Regions from separate parts of the Homo sapiens genome. Here region 2 is linked to region 1. Evidence: promoter capture Hi-C in human tissues and cell types (Jung and others, 2019). All regions are on one chromosome and are shown on one strand. Each heading gives the region's core, a stretch centred on a gene start or on the middle of the fragment in contact. The rest is flanking DNA. Distances are from core to core; before and after follow the strand shown.

Evidence for each region. Contacts are between HindIII fragments. The study calls those that stand out against the background at their distance.
Region 2: a contact is called between a fragment that was not itself captured here and the fragment with the promoter of CLASP2 in region 1, in 1 of the 25 tissues and cell types used here (H1 embryonic stem cells).

The regions. Positions count from the first base shown.
Region 1 is chr3:33,716,868-33,719,856 of GRCh38, reverse strand. CLASP2 (cytoplasmic linker associated protein 2) reads left to right here and starts at 1,603. Exons shown (of 39, transcript NM_001365631.1): 1 at 1,603-2,049. The coding sequence starts at 1,855. RefSeq lists an enhancer at 1,242-1,331 and a silencer at 1,532-1,871. The HindIII fragment of the contact is 13,875 bases long and covers 1-2,989 here.
Region 2 is chr3:33,750,182-33,753,170 of GRCh38, reverse strand. No RefSeq gene overlaps it. Among named protein-coding and RNA genes, the nearest start is that of CLASP2, 33 kb to the right of the region's middle. The HindIII fragment of the contact is 7,887 bases long and covers 1-2,989 here.

The DNA of each region.
Region 1 (2,989 bases), core at 354-2,853:
TCAACGAATTGGATGATGTCCACTGACATTGGGAAGGGCCATCTGCTTTACTCAGCTCACCAATTCAAATGATAATCTCTTCCATAAACTCTCTCACAGACACACTCAGAAATAATGTTTTGCCAGCTATTTGGGCATCTCTTGCCCCAGTCAAGTTGACACATAAAATTAACCATCACACATAGTTTACTTGATTGAGGCATAGTCTGAGGGAAATTACAACCAATTAAAGATGGAAGAAACTTTACAAACTCAATACAATGTGAAACACAGAAATACTGAAAAAAGAACACAGAAAACAGTCAATTTCTTTGAATTTTGAGTTTGTTTATTCTTAGTTATTGTGAATATTTCAAATATCAATTTTTGTTGAATTCATTCACTCATTTAACTTAAATTGGCCACCCATTATTTGCTAGGCACCACCCTAGGAAAACACAAAGGTTCCTGGAGCTTTCTGTGTATTAGAAGAGAAAGATATTACATAAATAATCATTTTGTTGTGATTGGGAATAATTGTCAAGAAGATAAACACAGTGTGCTTTTGGAATGTATTAGACAACTTTACCCCCACCAGAATGGCTAAAACTAATAACCCTGACCATATCAAATATTGTGGAGCAACTGGAACTCTCAAGCATTGCTGGTGGGGATTTAATATGATCCAGTCACTTTGGTAAACAATTTGGCAGGTTCTTCTAAAGTTAAACATACAACTTACAAGACCTAGTAATGCCAGTCCTTGGTATTTATTTACCCATGAGAGAAGAAAATATATCCACACAAAAACTTGTGCACTAACCGTTGTAGCAGCTTTATTCATAATTATAAAAAATAGGAAACAACCCAAATATCTACCAACAAGTGAATGGATCGACAAATGGTAGTGATTCCACAGAATGGAAAGCAATAAAAAGGAATGGACTTCTGAGACACCAACAGCGCTGGATGGACCCCAAACGTTATGCTAAAAGAAACCAGACTCCAAAGAAGCACAGACTGTATGAAGTTCAGGAACAGGGAAAACTATGTTACCATGCTAGAAATCAAATTAGAATTGCCTAGGGAAGAGCAGATAATTGGGAAGTGTCCTGGGACTTCCTGGGGTGTTGGAAACGTGCTGTACCCTCACTGGGGTGGCGGTTCCACGGGTGAATACATTTGCCGAAACTCATGAAGTGTACGCTGAAAATCTGTGCGTTTTACTTTAGGCAAACCTAAGTTTTGTTTTGTTTTGTTTTTTTAAGTATTACACAGTGACTGTGGTGGTGGCTGGAAGCAGAAGTCAGGAGTGTATTCTTTTTTTTTTTTTTTTTTAAACCGGCAGTGGGGGCGGGAAAGGGGGATGCCAAGTACTTTCCTAAGTGTTGAATACAAGTGGAGGCAAACTTGGAAACGTTCCACATTTCACAGGGCGAGGGCAGGGTGCCCTGACAGCGGCTAGCAAAGAACGGCCCGCCTCCCAGGGGGCTCGGCCCAACTCGGACCCCAAGTCTCCCTAGAGGTCCTATCGCTCCCAGCGGTTTCCGCAGCCACCTCCACCACCTCCGCAGCAAAACGCTAGCCGGACTGGAGGGCCCTCGCCGGCGTCGTGCTGACGTCACGCGCGTGCTGACGTCGCCCGCGGCCGCGGCCTCTGAAGCGGGCTGGGGATCGGGGGGCGCCGAGTTTGACTAGTTTGGGGGCGGCTGGGCGCTTGGCGTTCCTCCCGCCGCCCGCTGCGCCCCGCAAGCCGCGCCCCTGGCGGGCTAAGTGAGTCCCGCCCGCTCCCGCGGGGACCCGCACTGGAGGCTGGGCGGCTCTCGGCGAAAGTTGGCCGCTCACAGACTGGCAGGCGGGCGGGCGGCCGCAGCCATGGAGCCCCGCAGCATGGAGTACTTCTGCGCCCAGGTGCAGCAGAAGGACGTCGGCGGCCGGCTGCAGGTCGGCCAGGAGCTCCTGCTCTACCTTGGCGCCCCCGGCGCCATCTCGGACCTGGAGGAGGACCTGGGCCGCCTAGGCAAGACAGTCGACGCGCTCACCGGCTGGGTGGGTTCGAGCAACTACCGGGTAAGCGACGGCGGCGAGGCTGGGCTGGTCACGCCCTCCGCGGCAGCCCTTTAATCCCGGACGCGAGCGCCGGGCCGGGAAAGCTCCCGTCCGAACCACTGCTTAAGAGGGGAAACACACTTTGGGAAGCACAGGCGGGCGGATCACGAGGTCAGGAGTTCGAGACCAGCCTGACCAACATGGTGCAACCCCGTCTCTACTAAAAATACAAAAATTAGCCGGGCGTGGTGGCGGGCGCCTGTAATCCCAGCTACCCAGGAGGCTGAGGCAGGAGAATCGCTTGAATCTAGCAGGCAGAGGTTGCAGTGAGCCGAGATCGAGCCACTGCACTCCAGCCTGGGCGACAGAGTGAGACTCTGTCTCAAAAAAAGTAAAAAATAAATAAAAATAGGGGAAACAGGGGGGTCCCGCGTCCCCACTGGGCAGACCGCCTCTTCGTACGCGAGCCGAGGACTGACTTGTGACCACATTTTTCTACACTTGTGGACAATGACAAATTCAGCGATTCCGTGACACGTTGCGGAGTTACTAGGACACAATGTTGATCACTTATTTTGAAAAAAAAATCAGTGAAAGACTTCGACATTTGTGTTCACCTGTGTAAACACTACCCAGACCAACAGATAGGACATTAGGATACGATTTTAGGTTGATGTGTCTTAGTAGATAGGCTAATGCTGGGGGGGAAAAAGTTACAAAGATGAGGTGCGAGAAAGAATGAGCCTTTCTGAAGAGTTGGTGGTAGGCAGGGTGTAATGTAGCCGCGTTGGGAGGCCAGGTAAATATTTTGTATTTAACTTGCCCCGTAGTCGTTAGTAGTTACTTTTCTTTCTTGTCTTCTGGTGGCAGTGTTGCTTTAAAATGCTGACTGCAGCTTCCCATGGATGAAGTGATTCTTCTTAGTAACATATTCTCATGATCCAGCGAATAGGCTGTACTT
Region 2 (2,989 bases), core at 166-2,665, 34 kb before region 1:
CTGGAAAGAGAAAACAGAGCAAATAGAGGGGAGACATTTTCAAAGAGTTAAGACAAAATTTCTCCAAATTAAAGGACATGGATTTCCAGATTGCAAGGGTTAATGAGTGCCTGGAAAAATACATTACAATGAACTATGTCAAGATACATCATCTTGAAAGTTTACTACAATTGAAATAAAGCATTCTACAACTGCTCAGTGAAAACACTGAAATCCAGAAGACTTTGAGCAATGTCTTCTAAAATGCAAGATAAAGTTATTTACAACATAGAATTCTATAGACAAACCACTCAATAGTAAGTGTAGAATAAATGCAGTTAGAAATACTAGGTCTTAAATAATTTATCTTCCAGTGGAGGATATGCCTCACAAAATACAGGTATAAACCAAGAAGGAGAAAACTATAGAATCCAGACAATATGCAGGTATAAACCAAGAAGGAGAAAACTACAGAATCCAAGATACAATAAACCAGAGAAGGGAATTCCTTGAATTTTAGTAAAATGAAGTCAAGACAGCTGTGTAGCCCACCTAGAAAGCAATCAGCCTAGGCTAGGACAGAACAGAGGGCTCCAGGAGAAATATCAAGCAATTGCACTGATAAACTTCTATGTGTTTATAGCCATTGGGAAAAGTTTTATGATTCTCACAAATATTTTGAGAATGAATTAATGCTAAATATGTGAAATATTAAACAAAAAACCAAGGCAATTATATATTCACAGGTTGCATGCACAAAAAATTGCACAGAAAGGAGATATAATCACAATTTTCTATGTGGCTCAGTAATAAACAGTTACATAGTTCATAATAAAATTACTATGAATATTAAGCTAACCACAAATTGTGATTTAAATATATTGGAAAAATGGGATGAGAGGAAGTGAAAGTGAGGAAAGGAAAATGGAAATGTAAGAAAAATAAATTCTGAATTTCCATTTGGAAAAGAATAGCTAATATTTAATTTTGAAAAATTTTTAAAAATGGCCTCATAAACTGGTATTTAGAAATATGGTAGTAAGTACCAAAAAAAAATGCTTAAACAGGTTACTTATGGGGAGTGGAAAGGAAAAATGGGGAAAGGTGTGCTATTTTTTACTGTCAAGTTTATTGAACTATTTGACCTTTAAAAATTATTCATGGTGGGCAGATCACCCGAGGTCAGGAGTTTGAGACCGGTGTAGCCAACATGGTGTAATCCCATCTCTACTAAAAAGACAAAATTAGCCAGGTCTGGTGGCACATGCCTGTAATCCCAGCTACTTGGGAGGCTGAGACAGGAGAATCGCTTGAACTGGGAGGCGGGGGTTGCAGTGAGCCGAGATCGTGCCATTGCATTCCAGCCTGGGAAGTAAGGGCAAAACTCTGTCTGGGAAAAAAAAAATTATTATTCATGTGTATAATTAAAATATTTTATTGAAATACAATATGTATACATAAATGTTCACATTTACAAGTAAAATTTTGATTTAAAAAATACATTTAAATAAGTCAAAGGAACCATAAAAAGCTTTACAGATGTGGCCTCGGGCATAGTTCACTGTTGATGGAAATGATGAGCCACTAAAAGTGTTTCTGAAGGTATGATTTCAGAAGCATTGGTTTGTGGTTCTCAAGCACTTTGGAGTTTTCTGAAGAAAAAGCAATAAACAATATTACTCATTCTTTTGAAATAAAAGATTAACTGTGACTTTCTGAGAAAGCTGATTACGTTCTTATAAGTATTACAGTCTTTTTTTTCTACACTGTTCTGAAGGTACATCAGCAATTTCAGTCTTAAAGAAGGATCTGAACTGCTCATTTTGACTAAAGTTCAGTTAACCAGATATAGATTATCTTTGCCAGAGTGTTTTGGAGTTATTTCTATGTGATTGTTTACTTTTGTCAAACTTAATAACATGGCTCTTGGAAGCCAAAAGTTAGTAATGAAAACAGTAACTGAAATACTACTACTAAGAATAATTTAGCTATTCTAGGCATTTGTCAACATCATTTATTTGGGCTAAGCCCAATTTCAAGCCTTTAAAAATGAACAATAAGTGGAAATTTCAGAACTCCAAAGAAACAGTAATTAGTGAAATATTCTGCTGCTCCTTTTTCTCCATGGCAATGCCCCCCAACCTTGCTTGCACACTGGAATCACTTGGGGAGCTTTTAAAGTTCCAGTCCTCAGGCCACACCTCAGAACAGGTAAGTCAGAATCTCTGGAGGTGGGACCCAGGCATTGGTATTGTTAAAACTCCCCAGGTGATTCCAACATGCTGACAAGGTTGAGAACAACTGCTTAACGGAAAATCATAATGAACAACATTCAGGTACTATCACATTGGTTTCAGTCCTTTTTTTTTTTTTTTTTTGAGATGGAGTTTCACTCTTGTTGCCCAGGCTGGAGTGCAGTGGCCCAATCTCAGCTCACTGCATCCTCTGCCTCCCGGGTTCAAGTGATTCTCCTGCCTCAGCCTCCTGAGTAGCTGGGATTACAGGCACCCGCCACCACGCCCAGCTAATTTTTTGTATTTTTAGTAGAGATGGGGTTTCACCATGTTGGGCAGGCTGGTCTCGAACTCCTGACCTCAGGAGATCTGTCTCCCTTGGCCTCCAAAAATGCTGGGATTACAGGCGTGAGCCACCATGCCCGGACGGTTTCAGTCCTTTTCTTAAATAATCCTTAAACCTCTGCTGTGAGATCCTCCAACTTTTTTGAGGGGAAGGCATTAGGGAAGGGGAGATTATCCTCTCAACCAGACACTGGCTTTAAAGGAGATGTTTGCTCCAACCCCCAATATAACCCCGCTTAGGGCAGTAAAGATTGGCAGGGATGACATCCAATCATAACTCCACTACCCACTTGAGCTTAGCTTCATGAGCAAGTTCCTCTCTGCTCTTTAGTTGCATTATTAAATAAAAATTTAGCACATTTTAAAAAATAACAGTTTCATTGGGTTATGATTTATATACCATAAAACTCATCCTAAGTCTGCTGTCTTAA